Regions from separate parts of the Homo sapiens genome. Here all the other regions are linked to region 6. The links are contacts of gene promoters, found by promoter capture Hi-C in blood cells and fetal thymus (Javierre and others, 2016). All regions are on one chromosome and are shown on one strand. The core of a region is centred on a gene start or on the middle of the fragment in contact, and the rest is flanking DNA. Distances in the headings are between cores, read along the strand shown.

The links. The method cuts DNA at HindIII sites, captures the fragments that hold promoters and counts their contacts. A CHiCAGO score of 5 or more calls a contact.
Region 1: a fragment that was not itself captured here is called in contact with the fragment with the promoter of CD2AP in region 6 in 5 of 17 cell types (total CD4 T cells, total CD8 T cells, activated CD4 T cells and 2 more); the score reaches 11.3 in total CD4 T cells.
Region 2: a fragment that was not itself captured here is called in contact with the fragment with the promoter of CD2AP in region 6 in 3 of 17 cell types (non-activated CD4 T cells, naive CD4 T cells and total CD4 T cells); the score reaches 9.3 in non-activated CD4 T cells.
Region 3: a contact is called between a fragment that was not itself captured here and the fragment with the promoter of CD2AP in region 6, in 4 of 17 cell types (fetal thymus, non-activated CD4 T cells, total B cells and 1 more). The highest score is 16.2, in fetal thymus.
Region 4: a contact is called between a fragment that was not itself captured here and the fragment with the promoter of CD2AP in region 6, in 1 of 17 cell types (non-activated CD4 T cells). The highest score is 6.2, in non-activated CD4 T cells.
Region 5: a contact is called between the fragment with the promoter of ENPP5 here and the fragment with the promoter of CD2AP in region 6, in 1 of 17 cell types (fetal thymus). The highest score is 7.4, in fetal thymus.
Region 7: a fragment that was not itself captured here is called in contact with the fragment with the promoter of CD2AP in region 6 in 1 of 17 cell types (endothelial precursors); the score reaches 5.7 in endothelial precursors.

The regions. Positions count from the first base shown.
Region 1 is chr6:49,451,807-49,454,779 of GRCh38, reverse strand. It overlaps MMUT (methylmalonyl-CoA mutase), which reads left to right. Exons shown (of 13, transcript NM_000255.4): 5 at 1,024-1,195. Among named protein-coding and RNA genes, the nearest start is that of MMUT, 10 kb to the left of the region's middle. The HindIII fragment of the contact is 2,448 bases long and covers 500-2,947 here.
Region 2 is chr6:49,468,886-49,471,965 of GRCh38, reverse strand. CENPQ (centromere protein Q) reads right to left here. Exons shown (of 9, transcript NM_018132.4): 2 at 1,688-1,807; 3 at 938-992. The coding sequence starts at 1,789. Among named protein-coding and RNA genes, the nearest start is that of CENPQ, 7.1 kb to the right of the region's middle. The HindIII fragment of the contact is 2,807 bases long and covers 1-2,798 here.
Region 3 is chr6:46,126,336-46,129,177 of GRCh38, reverse strand. It overlaps a transcript of CLIC5 not described here. Among named protein-coding and RNA genes, the nearest start is that of ENPP4, 2.2 kb to the left of the region's middle. The HindIII fragment of the contact is 3,764 bases long and covers 1-2,842 here.
Region 4 is chr6:46,008,153-46,011,102 of GRCh38, reverse strand. The region is part of intron 1 of CLIC5 (chloride intracellular channel 5); the gene reads left to right. Among named protein-coding and RNA genes, the nearest start is that of CLIC5, 6.2 kb to the left of the region's middle. The HindIII fragment of the contact is 3,501 bases long and covers 1-2,950 here.
Region 5 is chr6:46,169,039-46,172,252 of GRCh38, reverse strand. ENPP5 (ectonucleotide pyrophosphatase/phosphodiesterase family member 5) reads left to right here and starts at 1,273. Exons shown (of 5, transcript NM_001290072.2): 1 at 1,273-1,445; 2 at 2,139-2,200. RefSeq lists a silencer at 1,042-1,101. The HindIII fragment of the contact is 3,442 bases long and covers 1-1,955 here.
Region 6 is chr6:47,476,399-47,479,286 of GRCh38, reverse strand. CD2AP (CD2 associated protein) reads right to left here and starts at 1,498. Exons shown (of 18, transcript NM_012120.3): 1 at 1,039-1,498. The coding sequence starts at 1,042. It overlaps CD2AP-DT (CD2AP divergent transcript), which reads left to right and starts at 1,215. Exons shown (of 1, transcript NR_187257.1): 1 at 1,215-2,044. RefSeq lists an enhancer at 214-940 and a silencer at 1,227-1,736. The HindIII fragment of the contact is 1,754 bases long and covers 514-2,267 here.
Region 7 is chr6:49,332,631-49,335,610 of GRCh38, reverse strand. No RefSeq gene overlaps it. Among named protein-coding and RNA genes, the nearest start is that of MMUT, 130 kb to the left of the region's middle. The HindIII fragment of the contact is 2,167 bases long and covers 554-2,720 here.

The DNA of each region.
Region 1 (2,973 bases), core at 474-2,973, 2.0 Mb before region 6:
GCCTCTGTGCCCTTCCTTATTGTTACTTTTGAATGAACTAGTAAATAAAATATTGATAGATATTATACAAATAAAGAAATAAATTCTTTGGAATTTTCAGTAAGTTTTAAGAGTAGAAAGGGAACCTGAGATCAAAATATTTGAAAACTGCTGTGTTAAGAACTTCTTTCAAGGCTGGGTGTGGTGGCTCATGCCTGTAATCCCAGTGCTTCGGGTGACCGAGGCGGACAGATCACATGAGGCCAGGAATTCAAGACCAGTCTGGCCAACATGGCGAAACCCAGTCTCTATTAAAAATACAAAAATTAGCTGGGCATGGTGGTGCTTGTCTGTAATTCCAGCTACTTGGGAGGGTGAGGCACAAGAATCGCTTGAACCTGGGAAGTGGAGGTTGCAGTGACCCGACATTGCTTCATTGCACTCCAGCCTGTGCAATAGAACAAGACTCTGTCTCAAAAAAAGAACTTCCAAAAATGTGTCAGAAGTAGATTTGCAAGCTTTGTGCCTTTAGAGACAGGCAAGTAACCTAAATGTTTAAATCAGCACAGAATATAAGATAAAAGGGAGAGGTGAAGGGCACAAATTGGAGAAGTATATGCCTAGACCAATGCACAATCATTCTTTTACAAAACACTTTTCTGGCTAAACAAAGCAAATTTGCTGTTTTATTTCATTCATAGGTGACTCCTGTCTTACATATTGAGTATTCCTAAAATATACATTTTTTAAATAAATTGAATCTTTATTTAATGAAGGGCATAGGAAGAGATTCTTTCATTAAGAAAACCAATTACAAAGTGAATAATTCTTACCTGAAGCAAAATTTCTTCCATATGCATAAAACTGTAATTTTATGTTAGGTTTAAAGTTACATAAATGTACGTGCACTGATCTTAATTCAAATTAAGTTCTTCGAAATTAAAATATAGACCTTGATTTTCTAGTGTGTGATACAATTAGTTTTATTTTCTGCTCTATATTGTTAACTTTAATTAAATTCTGGACCTAACGTTACTATTTTAGGTTGTCTTTCTTCTGGGGAATTGGAATGAATTTCTATATGGAAATAGCAAAGATGAGAGCTGGTAGAAGACTCTGGGCTCACTTAATAGAGAAAATGTTTCAGCCTAAAAACTCAAAATCTCTTCTTCTAAGAGCACACTGTCAGACATCTGGATGGTCACTTACTGAGCAGGTATGTATATAATTTAAAATGTAGAATTTTAATAAAGTTATATATATATATTTTTTCTGAGCAATGTGGCACAAGCAGGAAATAGAATTAAGAAGCTATCTGTTAATATTTGAAATGATAAATATTCTGAAGCATAATGTATACTTAGGTTTGTAATTATACATAATATAATAAATAAATAAATAAAAATTGTCTCCCTCTGGTGGTTAACAATATAAAATCACTTACATCCTAGCTTCCCTGTAGTGCTGAAACACTTGTAAAAGTAAACAAGGCTGGGCGAGTTGGCTCACACCAGTAATTCCAACATTTTGGGAGGCCGAGGCACCCAGCCTGGCCAACCTGGCAAAAACCTACCTCTACTAAAAATACAAAATTAGTTGGGCGTGGTGGTGCATGCCTATAATCCCAGCTACTTGGGAAGCTGACGTAGGAGAATCACTTGAACCTGGGAATCGGAGGTTGCAGTGAGCCAAGATGACGCCACTGCACTCCAGCCTGGGCAACAAGAGCACAACTACGTCTAAAAAAAAAAAAAAAAAAAACAAAGAAAGAAAGAAAACAGAATTTGATGATGAGAAGGAAGCAAAAGTCATAAGTTAGTACTCTCATATAATTGTAAGAGTTATAATTCTTAACATAAAACTGCCTATTTAAAATTAATTATATATACATACATATTTTATGTGTTAAAGTTATGTATTTAAGCAAGCATGCAAGCAGACTGTTTAAAGACTGTTTTTACTTGGGTAATTTAATTTGTTCTCTTAAAAATTGTATAGTTATGGCCTTGTTTTTATACATGTTCTCTTTACATATGAAATTATTTTGGTACATTTAAAAATAATTTATATGTGCAAAGTTACATTGCTTTTATACATTTAAATGTTGAATAATAACTATTATACTCTGTATGAAATAAAACTTCAGGTTCTTATAAATGGAGAAATAGACCTGGCACAGTGGCTCACGCCTGTAAATCCCAGCACTTTGGGAGGCCAAGGCGGGCAGATCACAAGGTCAGGAGATCAAGATCATCCTGGCTAACATGGTGAAACCCCGTCTCTACTAAAAATACAAAAAAATTAGCCAGGTGTGTTGGCAGGCACCTATAGTCCCAGCTACTCAGGAGGCTGAGGCAAGAGATTGGAGTGAACCCGGGAGGCAGAGCTTACAGTGAGCCGAGATTGCGCCACTGCACTCCAGCCTGGGCAACAGAGCGAGACTCCGTCTCAAAATAAATAAATAAATAAAATAAAAATAAATAAATAAATACATGGAGAAATAAGAGATTTTTAGGGTTGGAAGGAACTTTAATAATCATTTTTATTTTAACCTGCTTATTTTTTCAGCTAAAGAAACTGAAGTTCAGAGAGATCCAATGACTTGCCCAAATCACAATTAGGCATGCAATAAACTAGAACTCAAATTTCTGATATCTCAGTTCATTGTTCATCTATTTTATTAACATTTATTCAGTGCCTGTTTTGTACACATCATTGTGGTAGATACTGTGAGGTAGACAAAATAATCAGCAAAGAGTGAATTATGAAATGAAGGACTATATAATCTTAAGTAGAAAAAGAATGCATTGTTGATATACTTATAGAAAAGTATTTAGGCAATATAAAAGTAAGCACAACAATATCTGATATTTCAGAGGATTATAAGAGGCACTAAACACTGAACTCTGACTCTTCTAATTTTGGCTTCTAAACTAATTTGTCTGAATTTATTTGCTATTCTGAAGCTTAATATGGAAATTGACATAGAAAATA
Region 2 (3,080 bases), core at 146-2,645, 2.0 Mb before region 6:
ATCAGAACAAAATATTATAAAGCTGTATAAACTGTTTAATTTACTTTTTATCACACAGCTGTAACATCCCAGGTGTTGAATATGAATATGCTTTCTATTGATAAGTTAACAGAAATACTACCAAGTGATAATAGAAATAATTTTAAATGAAGAATCAAACTTTAATTATGAAAAGTTTCATTCTCAGAAATGGCCTAAATTCTTTAAACATTTCATTGAGAGGACCAGGAAACTATTTTCCAAATGTTGGATGGCAACTGGAACAAAACAGACTAATCAAACCACAAATAGATAGTGTCAACTATGCTGTTGGTACTGTTCTACTTATTAGGTATTAAAAAAAAGAAGAAATAGTACTGGATCTCATGAAAATGAGTGTTGGAGAGAAGGGATATTGAACAAATTATAGGTGTGCAAAGCATACAAAAGGAAAAAAAAGTATTGTACACTATGGCAGTATAAAACCAGAGGACCTAACCTAGTGTTGGCTGAGGAGACGTAGAGAATCCTTCCATGAAACAGTGATGTTTAAGCAAAGGCAACTACTCTAAACTAGTTTACTCCAAACAAACTTATAATAATGGTTCCAAACTAATCTATACAGAACAGAAAGCATATTTGTCTTGAAGAAAAATTAGTACATTTGTATTTATATCACAGATCACTAATAATTCAGGCTGTGGGCCACTTTGAGTTTCTCTATTTCCTATCAACTCAGTGGCATTGAAGCCTCTACAGTATTTCGTCAGAGGTGCTAAGTAAAATTTCAGTTGACCAAAATAACTAACCACTACTACATATTCTTACAAAAATGCAAATGTAGTTGTTTATTACTATCTTTTGCAGAACTCATAAACAAGATGCTGAACATTTTTTCACGAATGTAGATATAGCTTGATATAGAAGCAGGTTAAACAAGGTAATAGAAAAGAAATACCTTCAGAAGACAGATCTTTCAGATGATTTTTATTTTTTTTCACTGTGTTTCTAACCTAGAGGGAAAAACACATGCATAAACATAAACAGAATTAAACATCAGATAAAAGGATCCTGCTTTTACAATAGATTTTTATATATGTCAAAGAGTATTCATATAATTTCTAGTACATAGAAAAAATGTATGTTGCTACTTCTAAAGAAAAATGGTGTATATTTATCACAGAGAGGACATACTAAAGCAATTCTTGACAATGATGATAATAACAGAATTTTATACAGTGTCAAAGAATGTTTTAAATGAATTATTACTCACTTTGCCTAAGAAATAATGTTATATACAAATATAGGCATTGCCTAATGAGTAGGGTAAAACCTGAAACTTTTTTTTTTTTTTTTTTTTTTTTGAGACGGAGTCTCACTCTTTTTGCCCAGGCTGGAGTGCAGTGGCACAAACTCGGTTCACTGCAACCTCTGCCTCCCGGGTTCAAGCAATTCTGCTGCTTCAACCTCCTCCCGAGTAGCTGAGATTACAGGTGTGCACCACCACGCCTGGCTAATTTTTTGTATTTTTTTTTTTGTTTTTTTTAAGTAGAGACGGGGTTTCATCATGTTAGCCAGGATGGTTTCGATCTCCTGACCTCGTGATCCACCCACCTCGGCCTCCCAAAGTGCTGGGATTACAGGCATGAGCCATAGTGCTTGGCCACAGTTGAAGATTTCTAAATGAGAAACTTGATATTTTCATTACCTTATTCTCTGACAACACAACTTCCTCATTATCCTTTTTTCTCTTTGGATTTCTTTTTAACTGTTGAGCGTTTTTCTTGGAAGCATTTGCTTTACCAGACATCTTGATCTAAACACAGTGCTTCGAAAAAAAAAAAAATCTGTAAAGATGAAAATAATACAAAAAAAGCTAAAGCCTTGCACAATGTTTTGTTTAAAAAACTATCCTGTAAATGTTCCACATTCTCTTTTTTTTTTTTTTTAAAGAAAAATCATAATAAAAGTTTGGGGATAGTATTGTATGCTTTTAAACAAGCATTTTTTAAAAGAAATAATTTTCACTCTTATCAGAATAAGGATATCTAATTCAATTTCATTCCTAGAAATTAACTTCCGTTTGTATGGATTTTAGAAAATCATTTAAAAATGCTTTTGTATCTCTTATTTTATACTCTATCGTATGATAACATCCTCTCCATGTTTAAGTCCAAGGAAATAGAAATATAAAGTAGTCACAGATAATGTCAGTTCAAGGAGTAAAGCCTAGGTCTTGTTATTTTAAGTAATAAATTTACCATTACCCAATTTTTGCCAAAAATGGAAGGAGACACTTTTTAGGATTATACCATCAATCTATGTGGAAATTCATGTGTTAGTCTGACACTATTAAGAATTTAAACTGCAATCCTATCTGGGCTATGTGCATTTTAACAAGAGTACAGAAATGTACTGAATACCCTGCCCTCCCACAAATTACAAAACAGACATGGGATTGGAAATGGGGATGTTGATAAAATTTAGAGTAATTTTCCCTCTTTTATTACCAAACTAATTTCTGATAAAAGGAACAGAAGAATGAAATACTTATTCTTGCATTACACCATAAGAAGTGGATAGAAGTTAGGTGCAGTATACAAGGAAATATGTATATGCACATATTAGCTATATATGCCTAGAAAATATATATATACACATATAAACATATACACATATTAGCCATAGCTAGATATACAGATAAATTATTCATCATTTATTTTCTAAACATTCAGAATTATTATACTGATACAGTTTAAATATATGTGCAGATTTAGAGAAAGACAATGATAAATCTATCCTCTCAAACGTTAAAAGCTTCAAACTCCCCTCCACACAAGACTGGAAAAAAAATTGGGAAAGAATTAACAGAAAGATCACAAACTACATTTAGCAACCACATATCACACCAGTTACAAAAAGCAGTGGAAGTCAAAATATCACTTTACCCTGCTCTTGAACAATGTGATACCTTACCAAACACTCATTCTCTATCTTGTGTTCAATTTCTAAAATGCCTAATTACCTCAACTTTACATCTACACCCTTATACTTCCCCTACTTAAAAACCCATCCACATGACAGAATTTCACTTGTAGATC
Region 3 (2,842 bases), core at 208-2,707, 1.4 Mb after region 6:
ATTGTCCCGCTTGTTAAAATGCAGGCTCCAGAAGGTATTTTCTTTCTTGTTCACTACTGTATCTCCAGCTCAAATAAAAAGTACAAATAAATTAAGAATATTAATCACATGTGATATCCTCAAGTGTTAAGTATTTAATAGCTGTAAATCCAGTACCTGGATTAGTAAACTGCAGTACTGGACCTTAGATAACAAATTCTGACGTTGGTCCCCTTGGTCTGAACCTTACAGTATAGCTATTACCAACAATCTGGAAGCAGCCATGGAGATGATTTGGCAATAGATGTATTCCGTTGATTATTAGTTTGTGCCTTGATAAATTAATTCCAGTTTTAAGTCTCAGGTTGGCCTGTGCATTGGTGAATATGGGCATCTTAGATCCATGGGCTTTCAGAGCTGGAGGGGATGGTAGTGGGTCTGTAGCTGAATCCCTAGAACCTGCAGACCCTAGAACCTGGTTTGAATACTCACTCTGTCACTCACCAGCAGAGCAATCATGGGCCAGTGTCTCAACCTATTTGAGCTTTCATTTCCTCATCTGCAAAACGCGTCTTGTTACAATACCAACCTCTTACTATCAAATGAATGAGGAAAGCGAGTAGAGTATTCAGCACAGTATCTGACACATGTTGTTTTGGGGATTATTATCATTATGACCAAAAAAGTACCCCAATTTGAACAATAGTCAGGGTAAGGCCAAGTTTTGGGGGAATTTAGGTAATGTCCAATGACATAACATTTAAGATTAGCAGAACTTAAATTTTGTGGCATTTGGGGGTATTGTGCATATCCTGTTTGTTCATTCAGTAGGTGCATATGTATGCTTAAAGGGTGGACAAAACTGAATGCCATCTAGGTCAGATGTGTGGTGAAGATAGCAGCTGGATGGGCATCAGGAGAGGACTCTCTTTATCCACTGCTACTGCCTGTGTGGCTGGGTTAAATTAGGGAGTCTCATGCCACCTGGGCTCTTGCTCTGTAAGATAAAGTGGTCAGGAACAGAGGGACAAAATGACACATAAGGACCTTTGGCCCTAAACTTTTGTTATCCTCTATATATTTACCATTTCAACCACAACCAAAATCCTGTTATAGTAAGGATATTTATCGTCTTGTGGAACAAGAAGTCCAGAGGTAAGGCAGACTTCAGGACTGGTTGAGTTAGCAACTCAACGATTTCATAATGTACTCAGTTCTTTGCAGCTTTACACTTGGCTTTTAACAGAGTAGACTTCTGGTTCCTTTAGTGGTAAATATAACTACCAGCAGCAACAGGAACCATGTAATTCATTTTTCACTTCCACTGGGTGATAGAAATGACGTCTAGATTTCTTCTGTCTCTTAGAAGTCTTCAGCAACTGTCTCCTTTAATCACTTTGGACAGAATTGTGTCACATATCCAAATCTAAGCCAGCAAAGGATATGGTTACCTGTAGACCAATGCAGTCCACATCTTAAACTGAGGTCTCACCCAAACTTTACTTTTTTTCTCAATGGAAATGAGTTGGAATGGGTGCTGGGAAGCCGGCCACAAAGTTCACTATAGTTTCATTGTAGAACTTTAATGATAATAAAAGAAAACATAATAGTAACATAAATTTCTTATTTACAATGTGATTTTTAGGCATAAGTGTTGTTTTATTTAGGTAGGCAAAATAATATTCATTTATAATGTTCTTTCAGCTCAGCTTTTGCAAAGGGAATTTTATATAAATTTTGGAAATATAGAGAGCCTTTAAACCCATTTTATGTTAGAGATTGAAATGAATTAGAGGCAATAGTCTAAACTTATTATTTACAAATGAATATACCCCACAGAGAAATGACTGAGCAAACATACAGTTAGATAGAAGAAATATATTCTAATGTTTGATAGGAGAGTAGGGTGACTATAGTTAAATGTATTTTATATTTCAAAATAGCTAGAAGACAGGACTTGAAATGTTCCCATCACATAGAAATGATAAATACTCGAGGTAATGGATACCCTAAATACCCTGACTGGATTGTTACACGTTCAATGCATGTAACAAAATATCACATCTGCCCTATAAATGTATAGAAATATTATTTATCAATACACAAAAACTAAGTACAACTAGAGCATTTGCCTCTATGGGGCAATGTCAGATTTGGAAGCAGCATGTCAAAGGCAGTTTCTTTTTCTCCCATGAACTACGCTCAAGACTGAACATTTATTCATTAACACAAAATATTTTAAAAATCTTATCCTGTTTTCAAAATTTAAGACATAGCTCTCTATACAATTATTTCTCTTTTATACTCCTAATTGTGATGTATAACTCATTGCTGGCCAGGAGAAGGTCAGAAGTTAGAAGTTACAGGAAGAAGGTTTCAGAGCAAAAGCCACACGCTTCCCAAAGAAAAACAATTCCTGTCCACTGCTCAGTTCTAATTAAACAACAACACAACTGAAACTAAATAATTGAATGTCAAGGAGAGTATTTAAGGTTCACTTTTTAATATAAATTAGATGTTTAAGTAATACAGATTTTATCTTAAATATAACAGGGGAAAAGGACCTTATGAATCATTGCATTTTAGTGATTTTGAAAGTTCCTTTGGTGAAAACTTTTCACCTACTCCATTTTCAGTAAGATTATATTGGAATAATCTCAATCAAGTTAAGATTGTAAAATATTTTTAAGTGCTCCTTTAAAAAATGATTCTGTATTAACCACCATGAACTATTGTGTTAGACCTTCACTCTAAAGGAATTTTTTCAAATATTTAATAAAGCTGTGAAAGAATCAGTATAAATTCTTTTGAGGCTTTCCTATGTGGAGAGCAATGTGCTCAATTTTTCAAAAGATACAAAAAT
Region 4 (2,950 bases), core at 353-2,852, 1.5 Mb after region 6:
ATGGAAACGACTAGTCTTTCATTTATTGAGTGGCCCAAAAGTTTCTGAGTGGTGCAGGGTGCAATACAAGTTGTGGTGACTCGTGGTGTGGTCATCTGACTTCCAGAACAGATAGGATCAGATCTTGTGGTGTCGCCTCTATGTCCCTGAGCTACTGTGACTGCCTGGTCACCTTGGGCCGCTTGCCTAAGCATGAGCTCACTAGGTTTTTAAAGTTCCCTTCATCATATTAAGCTACTGTGTTTTTCTTTCCCACTATCTTCAGGTTTTGATCTGTAGTCAATAACGCAATACACAAATTTGCCTGCCCTGCTATGGCAGTGAGTGCTTCTTCTCCTGGTAACACATCCCTGGAGAGCTAGCGTCAAGAGTTGTATGATGCATATTTGAAGTGCCATGGCAGGGTGGTGGGAATGAGGACTGGGTCTGCAGAAGCTGACGTCCACTGCCAGTGTTGAGAGCTCCTGCATCCCTGATGACTTGTGTTGTCTCTTTGGGCATTTATTGGCCCCCTCCATGCAAGACAAAGCGTCTGTCAATTTAGACAGTCAGTTAGGTCAAAAACTTCTCATTCTTGGTTCCCTTTGAGTTGTCAGCTGCTGGCCCCATGTTAGTGGTGGCAAGAGATGTGGTGGAAGAGTGAAACTTTGGTGTCAGGCTCGGGTTCACCAGTGTGTTGGCCAGGATGGGCTGCTTGACCTCTCTGGACCACAGATTTTTTTTTTGTTTTAACCAGTGCAGTGCTAATAGCAGCAGCACATCTTTCATGGAGTTGGTGTCAGCATTTCAAGCTGAGTATGGATCTGGCCTATTAGTAAGTCTTTCTCTGTAGGCTCCATGTAGCCCAATAAGTAAAAGTAAAGCCCTTGGGCTTCCCTCCCTTGATGTGTACAAGAAGTCAGAGGCTCAGTCCTACCAGCTGAATCTCACATCTCAGAACCAAGATACTTCTTGAAAGAAAATGTAAGTTTCCAAAGCAGGTCGTCATTCAGGGAACTGGAAGAGAAATGTTCCCGATTGTTGGAGCTGACCCCTGAGAACACAAGCAGTGAGTCTCATTGCTGCAGACCAATGGCAACTGAAGTACAGTGCAACCACCACTGGATCTGACTGCCTCTGACTGGACTGCTGCTCCATAAGCTGGAGCCCACTAGAGCCCATGTCTGGAGTAATGTGGTTGGACTGACTACAGGGTAACTGCAGATCCCTGACCCACTGGGTTCTTCAAACTCAGGGGAAGTTGATTCCTCCTGTCAGTTGCTCCCTCATCCAAGAAAGCTCCTACATAACTGCTTCCCCAAGGCTCCTGGTAGCCAGGCCAGGGTAAAGGATCCTCTTTATTTTCAAGAGGATCCCTGGTTCTCTTTGCAGATTTTACTACCCCTTCCTCAACAATCTTCCAGCTATGCATAGCCATAGGTGCTCTCATCAAATATACTCACACATGCACACGTATTATCTACCAGGATTATGGGGAAAATGTCGTAGGCTCTCACTCTCTGGTATCTATTAAAAAACTATTACCCAGAACACATCCTGAGTTGTATCTGTTGTCAAGACTGGAGGAACTAGAGATAGTAAAGATGCAAAGTGGTTAAGCATGAGTTTCCTAAGATGTAGTTCTGTAAAGGACTCTCTCTACCCAGGGTGTCTTAAATCTAACACTGCTTGTGTTCTGAGGGGTCAGCTCCCACAGTCAGGGACATTTCTCTTCCAGTTCGCTAAATGACAACCTGCTTTGGAAACGTGTCTTTTCTTTCAAGAAAGAAGTATCTAAGTTCTGAGATGTGAAATTCTTTAAGGACAAATAAGATAAATAGCCTACTGTCTGAACTGAAACGAATTCTTCCCTGTAAAAAGAAATGGAGTTGTTAACTTCTAGAAGTTCTTTTAGCTCTGCTGGCATGGGAAGAGTCTTTAAGGGGGATTCAAAGACTCTTCCCATGCCAGCAGCACTGGAGGTAAACCATGGGTAGGCTGGTGGTTCTCAGCCTTTGGGGCATGAAAGAGTCACTGCACTTGCCTTCTTCACTTGTACCTGCCCAGGTCCTGTCTATAGAGTTTCAGATTTAGGAGGGTGGGGTGAGGCCCAGGCATCTGTATGCTTAAGAAGCTACCCACTGGTGATTCTGAAGCCCATCAAAGACTGAGAACCACTGGTGCAAACCATGGGTAAATAGGGCTGAACTACTCAGTGGAGCATCAAAAGGACAAAATATGGTCCAGTCGCTACTTCAAACAAGCATTTCACAGGATGGAGGTAGCCAAGGCAATATGCTGGTTCACATGAATCACTCCAGATTGACCTCAAATAAACCAGAAAAGGGAGGAAAGAAATGCTTTTGACCTTTCTTTTGTAATTTTTCTTTTCTTCCTTTGTATATTTTTTATTATATAGGAGTGACACATAATTTTAAATGGCAATGCATGAAGGAGATAGTAAGATAAAGAATGTAGGGAGTTGGGGATAAAATATAATCAATCAATCAATATATGAAAATGCTTACAGAGCACCTACTCTGTGCCAGGCTCTGTGAAAGCTGAAGGGGGCTGGGGGAGATCAGAGAAGAAGACAGGCTCCAGTAGCTTGTGAGAGTGCCACTGAGGAGTGCAATGCAAACAAGCATCAGTGGCACATGAGTGACAGGAATGCAATGAGTCATGCATATGATGGGACCAGTGTGGCCCAAATGGTGTCTTCAGGCCCAGCTTTGGGTAGGGTGGGACCTGAGTTGAGTCTTGAAGAATGATCAGGATTCAGAGGTGGCCAAAAGTGAGCAACCATGTCAGGTCCAGCAAAGGTGTGGAGATGGGGATGCTCAGGGCTTATGAGTACACGGGGTTGTCTGAAGCAAGTGGTATATGAAAGGAGCAATTGGAAATAGGACAGCAAAAAAGCCAACAACAGTGGCAGGAGGGGGCCTTGAATGGGAGGTAAGTGGTATCTGCT
Region 5 (3,214 bases), core at 24-2,523, 1.3 Mb after region 6:
TGTTTGCATGGCTTAATTAAATATCAACAGATATCTCTATTCACTTTAAAGCTCCAGCACACCAGACAAGGGATCCGAGCTCCGGGCAGGAGCCAAAACCACCATTGCAGATATGCTCCCAGTTTTACCAGCTAATTAGATGTTAAACTTACATTGTAACAATCAACCTGATATTATTGCCTACTGCAGATAGAACTAGAATTCTAATTAGGTCAGAATTCTAGCTGGGATTGTGTAGATGGACAAATTCTTTCAGGGTAGTTTGATATCACTGCTATAATTTATGGTAAAGACAGTTGGGATCATACTGGCAAACTAAGTACCTGCCTACACTCCCTCAGGCCTAAAAATGCCATTGATTATCCCAAAAAAACTGAGAAAATAATCCACTACAGTACGGAAAAAGACAAAATAGGGGCACTAACACACAAGAAGCACTGAAGGCTTTCTGAAAGAGTAATCAGGCCTGATGTTTGTAGTTTTAATGTTTACTTTGCAAACAAAGGTAGAAACAGAGTCTGGAGCTCGGATGCCACCACCAGAGAGGGTGGCTGTTCAGCCTCTCTCCTGTGCAAATTAACCTAATTCTGAACCTGTCTTGGTTTAATTCGCACAATTTCAGGTGCCATGCTAGGTACACCACAAATATACCTCAGGGACCTCAATTGCAAAAACCTGGACTGCAAACGTTGGGGCTGCAGAGTTGACTAGGTTAATAAATTCTTTCTGAGGTAAAGCAGATAACACCCACTAATAAAAAGAATGAAACTTCATCGTCCCATTGGCATCCTCGGGTGTGCAGGTGTTCCTCAGAGCAAAGCCCATGGTGTGCCCCATCGCCAATTCGTGACAAGGCAGGGGGCGGGGGGCGGGGGAAGGAAAAAAGCCTGGGATAAGAAATCAGAGAATACAAGTCGCTTTTAAACAAAAAACAGTGACTGTTAGAGTACACCCACCATTGGGGTAACACGCAATAATCTCTCAGCATCACTGACTCCAGCACAGCTGGTCCCCTGGAAAAGGCACGTTGCCGGAAGGTTTTGTGTGTGACCAAGCAATTGGCCATCCCACGCCTTCGCCCTACCAGATGGGTCCCTGCCCCCGGGAGTCCCCTCCCCCTCCACCCTCCAAACCCAGGCAGCGCCCGCCCCTGCCCCCGCTGATTGACAGGCCGTGCAGCTACTCCTGGGAGCCTGGCTTTCGGGGGCAACCCAGGCAGAAGTGACTATCTCTGCAGCAGCCAATAGAAGCCAGGAGGCGGGGCGGGGAAGCGGCGCGGTCAGGTGCTCCGCTCCAGAGTTGAGCGCAGGTGAGCTCCTGCGCGTTCCGGGGGCGTTCCTCCAGTCACCCTCCCGCCGTTACCCGCGGCGCGCCCGAGGGAGTCTCCTCCAGACCCTCCCTCCCGTTGCTCCAAACTAATACGGACTGAACGGATCGCTGCGAGGGTGAGTCCAGGGGCGTGGGTGGCTTCCCTCCCGGGAACCCACACTGCTCCTCTGGGTCCCTAAAGCAACGTCCCCTCCTTGCCACTGCACATCTAAGAAGCCCAGGCCTCGGTGGGCGGGATGACTGGGAATTGGGAACATAACCTACGCCGCGACCATTCTGGGTGGCTAGGATGGAATCCTGGTGGAGAAGATGGACACCCCCGCCCTTGACGTCTACCCGAGCTACACAAACCTACTCCTTCTGCACTTTCCCTCTTCCGTTTAATCGGTGCCCCGTCCTTCCTGCTCTCCAAGTCTGTTTGTGGAGGAAGGGTTGGAGGGGAGAAAGAACTGGAAAGTACTCAATGAAATGTGGAGCCAGATCCAGGGATTCCACTGTTTTGTGCAGCATTTTGTGCACGAAAAAAAAAAAAATTCTGATTGTTTTCATTCCCCACCCCCCACCTCTGTTTATTGCTCTGTGTCATGGATGTGATGTTGAGTCTTCTTGCCAAACATTCCTAAGCTTTAGACAACACTTAATCTTTGCTTACTTTTGTTGGTCCCAAGAAAGCAGTTTTCTCCTGCTTACACATGTGCCGAATTAATTTGCTAAGATAGATGAAAATGAGGTGTTCCATGTAGTTTATTTCCTCTGCTTTTAGCCTTAAATTACATTTGGTTGATACTAGCCTTCCTTGTTTTAAAAAGGTGGGAGAGAAAATTAGGGGGAGAAAGGACAGAGAGAGCAACTACCATCCATAGCCAGATAGGTGAGTAAATATATTTGCAGTAACCTATTTGCTATTCCTTGCTGCAACTGTGTTTAATGTTCCTTCCAGAATCAGAGAGAGTATTGCCATCCAAGAAATCGTTTTTAAATATGACATTTGAGCTATCATCTTGAGACCAATACCTAAAACAATTTCAGTTTAAGAAATGTCTAGGTATGGTGAAAACACAGTTTAAAACCAGCAAAACAGAATTTATTGCCCTCAGCGAATACCCACAATGTACATATACCTTGTATTTCTGAAAGCAAAGCAAGCATGCCAAGTAGTTTTTATTTACCTGTACCTATAATACAGCAAGGTGAAACAGGATATATTTTTGAAGTTTAAAAATGTCTTCAGGCCGGCTGCGGTGGCTCATGCCTGTAATCCCAGCACTTTGGGGAGCCGAGAAGGGTGAATCACCTGAGGTCAGCAGTTTTGAGACCAGGCTGGCCAACATGGCGAAACCCTGTCTCTACTGAAAATACAAAAATTAGCTGGGTGTGGTGGCGGGCGCCTGTAGTCCCAGCTACTTGGGAGACTGAGGCAGGAGAATTGCTTGAACACGGAAGGCGGAAGTTGCAGTAAGCTGAGATCGTGCCACCGCACACCAGCTTGGGCAACAGAGTGAGACTCCCTCTCAAAAAAAAAAAAAAAAGAAGTCTTCAGCTTAGGAAGATATCAAAAGGCAGTTTCAAGAGATTTATTTGTACAAGTGTGGTTTGATCTAAGTTTTGGTGGGTTTATAAATACCTTCATGCAGGAATGGGTAGAAAAATGAGAGAACAAAAGATCCCTGCTGGATGTGCACGCCTGATGAAAACTGACAAAATTTACATATCTATTGTTTATCCATACAGCGTCTTATTAGCTTTCTTCAATAGAATGAAAGTATTTTAGAAATATACACAGATTAGGGGAAAAGACCAGCAACCTTGATTCACAGAGCTTTAAACCAGGGAAGTGCTTTTACTACACCTATCAATGATAAGATTAAATTTTGACAAATTTTAA
Region 6 (2,888 bases), core at 249-2,748:
TTCGGTGATCGTTTGTTGATATGAAGCAGTACCAACTCTCAACTGCAAAAAGTGATAGGGTCCTCCTGATTTGCTCTACAAAAATCAAACTTGGGTTTACTCTTACAGAACACGTTCTGCCTTATAGAGACACAGGGTGTTTTGTTTTTTGTAAGCTATTCTTAAGTTGCTTTTAATTTTTAAAGGATTGAGGGAGTTAGTTTAATGCCTAGCCCACACCGAACTTTGTTATCAAAAGAAATTGTTACACCACTTAACAAAACTCCTTTTCAACCCGGACTGCCACACATTCTGCCTTCTCTAACTTCAAACAAAACTATAAAGCACATAGTAAATAACATATAAGGCCTTGTATTTTTCTCTCCTCCGGCAAGGAAGTCTAACTCCAAACAGGAAACTGCTCCTCAAAGGATCCAACACTGAAGTCCAAACCCAGTCCTCGGGAGCACACTGAATGCTTAGGTGCCAACACACTTGCCTAGGTAGAACCCGAGTAAAACAAATACTCAAGCTTTCCTGTCCTTGAGGCACCCCTTGCGAGTTTCAGCAGGAAAAAAAAAAAGTTTTTGAACAAATTTATCTCTCTCCTTAAACGTATTCAAAGCCTCGCAGAAAATAAAGAAGTTGAAAGTGCTACTTTATCAAGTTTTTCGATCGCCCTCCCCCATCCCACGAGGAGGGGGAGGGAAGCAAGGGGATGAGGAAGGGAAGGAAGGTCAGGTCTGATTTTAGCTGGGCAAGGGGTTAGCAGAGGTGGCCAGGCGCCCCCGCCCCCCATCCCGCACCTTTCTGGTGAACAGGAAAAGAGGCGGAGAAGGGAGAGCGAGGGAAAGCACCCGCGAGCTCTCCCACCAGTTTCTCCGTGAGAAGAGCAAGGTGGAAGGCAGGGCAAGAAGGGGCGGTGGGGAGAATGGAGAGGGTGGGGTGCTGCCGCTCAGGGGCTGACCGCAGTCGCCTCCCCAGAAGGCCGAGAAAGGGCACAGCCTCCCCGGGTCTGGAAGGTCCGGACGGGCGGCGGGAAGCGCCCGAGTCTCTTACCCATGCTGGGGGCTCCCGCGGGGAGAAGCCGACGTCCGCTCCTCCTCCTCCTCCTCCAGTGGTGGCTCGCGCGGCCGCTCCCGCGGCTGGAGGCGGGACCCGCGCTCCGCGCTAGCCCCTCCTGAGCTCAGGCGGGGCGAAGAGTCGCCTCCATCCGCCCGCGGCGCTCTCCTACCAGTCTCTTCAGCGCGGCCCTCGAGGCAGAGGCAAAGGCGGCGACAGCTCCTCACCCCTGGCCTCCCCAGGAGCCACGGCGGCGGGAGGGCCCTACCCCGCCCGCCCGACCGCGGTTTTCCCACCCTGGCCGCTCCCGCAGTGGGGAGGGACCCACCGGTTTGCCCAGACCCTCGGCTCCAACCCCGAGCGCCCGCCTAGCCTCGGAGCCCGCCCCTCGCCTCTTCCTTAGCACTCGCAGTTAGAAAAGGCGACACCGTAGACTAAGGTGGGGACCCAGACAGAGGCCGAGAAGGTGCGGGGAGCTGGGACCGGGAGGAGGCAAATCTCGCGAGAACGCCCTCGTTCTCCCCGCCCCACCCCGCCCCGTCGCGTTCGGGCTCTCTCCCGGTCCCCACGGCTGCTGCCAGGTGCGGTGACGTCACGGCCGGGGGTCGCGCGCCGACCGCGTCCAGGTGCAGCGAGCGGATGAGGAAGCGGTGCAGAGGAGCTTGGGCTCGCTCTCCCCCCGGAGGCTCGGAACAGCTTGGGCGGGCGTTTGGTCTGGTTTGTCGCCTCAGATGGATCAAAAGGTTTCTGCTGATAGGCAAAGTTGCCCCACTTTCCGCGGCGGCGACGCGGAGTTACTTTCTGCAGCGAAGCAGCCTCGAGGACCTTAAAGGGAAAAGGCGGACAGAAGGAGGGCGAGCGCACTTGATTTCGACCTTTAAGGGAGGCCCAGATGCTGCCAGGCCCCTCAGTTTACCTTGCGAAGTTACTTACGGATCAGCAGCATTTGGTCTTCGTCGGGTGAGGGAGAAACCTAGGCATCAAATAAATTCTGTTTCACAGATTCCTTTAGTCTCTTGTCAGCTGAATGCAACTTTATAATTTGCTTTTTTTCTTTTTAAAGTATAATTTGAGTTGTTACTTGATCGAGAGAAAAATAGGCATCATGATTTGAAATACTGCCAGGCATTTTTTCTAGCGTCAATGTGAAGGAGGGCATAGGATTACTATAGTCAGTCAAACATGAGCTTGGTAGTTACGAAGAAGTATAATTATTTCAGCAAGCTTTTTTTCCCCCTTCTGTTTAAGTAGACCCAATTCCAGGGCAGATGTGTGTGTGAGCGTTTGTTGAACGCCAACTATTGTGCCTAGTGCTTTTTCAAGAAATTTTGTAATTCTCAGTCATCCAGCACTGAAACTGACTTGCCCTTTGGATCCAGGCAGACATGGGTCCTTGAAACTCAGCACAGCCATTTACTTTTTGTGGGACCTTGGATAAATTAACCTGTCTGAACTTCAATTTCTTGAGTATGTTCAAACAAATCTTGCAATGCAGAGCACAGTGGCCCATAGTAGTAACCTTGGACGTATCCATTACCACTATTTCCTATAGGCCTGCTTTTGCCATCTTTTAATTCTTCTAATGCTTCTCAAAAGGTTACATGTGGTAATTTTATAACAAGAATGATCAAACTCACAAACAGCAGCCAAAAAGGATAAAAGAAAAAAGTTGAATATACTCACCTAAACAAGATTACATTGACATCATGGAACATGTGCCTTTTTTAGGTAACAAATATGTGTTCAGCATTATGTTCGTTGTCCCCTACCAAGCAAAAAAATAAAAAGCTAAAGTACAGCGCTAATCCTCAGAGATTTTGCATTCTTCTAGGGGGGTGAGATACGAA
Region 7 (2,980 bases), core at 388-2,887, 1.9 Mb before region 6:
TTATCTTTGTTAAAGTTTGTTTTATTGTCCAGAAGATAATATATCTTGGAGAATATTCCATGTGAGCTTGATGAAAATATGAATTTTCATCTTGTTCTAGACTATGTTGAAATTACAGAAAACAATTATAACAATATTATGAAGCAGAACCCATAAAATAATTTGCAATATACAAGATATAAGAAGTGGGAAACTCTAAAATAGGAGAATGGGCTAATGTCATGGAACAGACCTTATGTTGATAAGATTAGTATGTTTCATTACACAGTATAATATTAATAGTAGAGAAGCATTGGTGTTACAGTCTAGTACTGTTAGCCAACTTTTCATGATTTATATTTTAAATAAATTGTAAGCTCTTCGAGTGGTGGGACAATGTGGCAGAGCCACAGTTGATAGACCTGTTCTACTTCTGGTTTCTGGACCTTGCTATAGAGGTTGAGTCTCACAAGATCGGAGCTGGCATGAGGACATGTATTATTTTAAAGAAATGTAGGACTGTGCAGTGTGAGGCTCATGCAGATACTTCAGCCGGGGGAAGGTCAATCAAGCTTTTCTATAGTTCCTTGGTGAGGAGACCTGGAATGGGAGGAGACATTGGGTCCTGAGGAAGGAACACAGCAAGGATGAGCCATGGTATTAGGGACGTAAATGGGGATGAGATCATGAAGAACCTTGAATGCATGCTAAGAAGTTTTTGGGAAACAAATATCTTGGTATCAACTATTGAGGCTAGATTTTTTTAACCTTTAAACACAGAAATGTCTCTTCAAATAAAGAGATGAATTACTTTCAAAAGTACAGTACTAGTAGCCGTATCAGTGGTGGGGACACGTCTCTCTTCTCATGTTTCCTGCTGAAGGGACTGAACTGGTGCAACATTGTTTTTCTTCCCATCTTTTTACTTACTCTACTCCAGTGTAAAAGGGTGGCTTATCTTTGGTAAGTTTGTGATAAGGTTAAACCAGGAGTGAGTATCCATTAATCATCTGTCCAGTAAATCTTAACCTGAGCAGGTTCTTTTTGTGTGAAGGGCTTTTTTTTTTTTTTTTTTTTTTGCTCACATTAAGCTCTCCACTCTAATTTTGTTTTTATTATTTATTACAGTGATTTTGGCCTCCACCAGATTCCCTTTTTTCTTTTTTTCAGAATTTGGAAAGGGAAAATGTATGCTATTTATTGGCTCTCCTTAGAGACCCCAGAAATAACAACAATGGGCATTTACAGAATGATTCATGTATAAGATTATCATTATTACTATCCCTATTATCCTTAGTGGTTCATGTCTAAGACTATGCTTATTACTGATATAATATAGGTCCTACTCACACTTCTACTGTGCCCAATGTTCCTGTCTTAGTATAACTGTAAATTTATAATTTTGTTTTAATTTTATACCCTATAAAATGTACAATTTTATCAATTAAAATATAAAACAAGTAATCCACTAAATAAACAAAAAAATGTGTTAAGGACCAAGGACTTAAAGATGAATAATGTCTAAATTTTAATAATAATAAAATCTCCATAACGATTAGAACAGAAGACATAGAAATATAGGTTTTAAAGAAATGTGTAGAATTTTCTGTAACATATGTCTACCCAAATTCCGAATCCCACACAAAATTTGGTCACGTAATGACTCACAGATGTCTTTTGTTGGCATTTCCAAGAGGCATGATATCAATTCTATGTAAGCTACTTTCTTGGAATATGAGTTTTATTTATTTTACTGAGAGATGAGATAGCCTGTGAACATTTTTTTCCTGGCTTAAAGTTACATTTTTTCCACATCTTCCTTTTTCAGAGATCCATTAATTTTTCCAGGTTTAGCAGGAAGAAAGCATAAGTTGTGGCTGTGTAAATGGTGTTACTATTTGCTTATCTCCATTTTAACAAGTATGGGAGTAATAAAGAACATATGTAAATATTACTGGGTATGGTGAAATAAAGAACATATGTAAATATTACTGGGTATGGTGAATGTTCCTTGGATCAGTGGTTCTCCAAGTGTGATCACTGCACCAGCAGCATTAGCATCACTGGGAAAATTGTTAGCAATAGAAATTCATGGAACTCCATGCCAGACCAAGTGAATCATAAACTCTGGGATGGTGTTTAGTCATCTGTGTTTTAACAAGCCCCTCAGGTGATTCTGATACACACTACCATTTGAGAACCACTACCTTACCTTAGAGAAAACAGTACTCCCTTGAAATCCTCAGCACAGGAGAATTTGGGAAACACATTACCTGCTAACGTCATTTGCTCCCATAAAGTATTATAGTGCAGGCCAAAGGCGAATACCCCCCATTTTTGAGATTAGCAATTATTATACCTTTGGTTGTAAGGAATCACCTGTTATAAGATTCCACAGTTACTTTCCTAGTAGTTTCAACATGTCAGGAAATATGTAAGGCTTAGTGAATATAGAAGTGAACAGAAGGGAAAATATATCTGCCCTCATTAATTTTTAATAACAGTTAAGAAGCAAGTAAATAAATATACAAACAATTGTGATAAATTTTGGAAGAGGAATACTAGCATGTGGATGTACTCACAGAATGTGGTTGGGAAAAGGGATTGTTATGCTAAGAGCTGGTTGTAGAGTCTTTCAAATGTCCTGAGACAGGAATGGGCTTGGCCTTTCTTAAAAAACAATAGAAACCCAATGTGACTATAACAGGATGAACTGAGAGAGACCTGGCATGAGATAAGCTTGGATTTCTACGCAGGGCAAGATCATGCTATTCCAAAAGGATTAGTCTACACCTCTCCATGCCTGATTCCTCATCTCCTATGAACATAAAACTTAGATCTATTTTCTTATAATCAGAATCCATTTAACAAATTCACTTTCCCAGCTTGAATTTAAGGCTGCAAATACTGGTTCTTGCCCATGTTTTCCCATGTGGCTCAGTACCCTGGAGACCAGTCTTAGCTCTGTCTGTAAAACTCTTGTTTTTCTAATATTAGTATA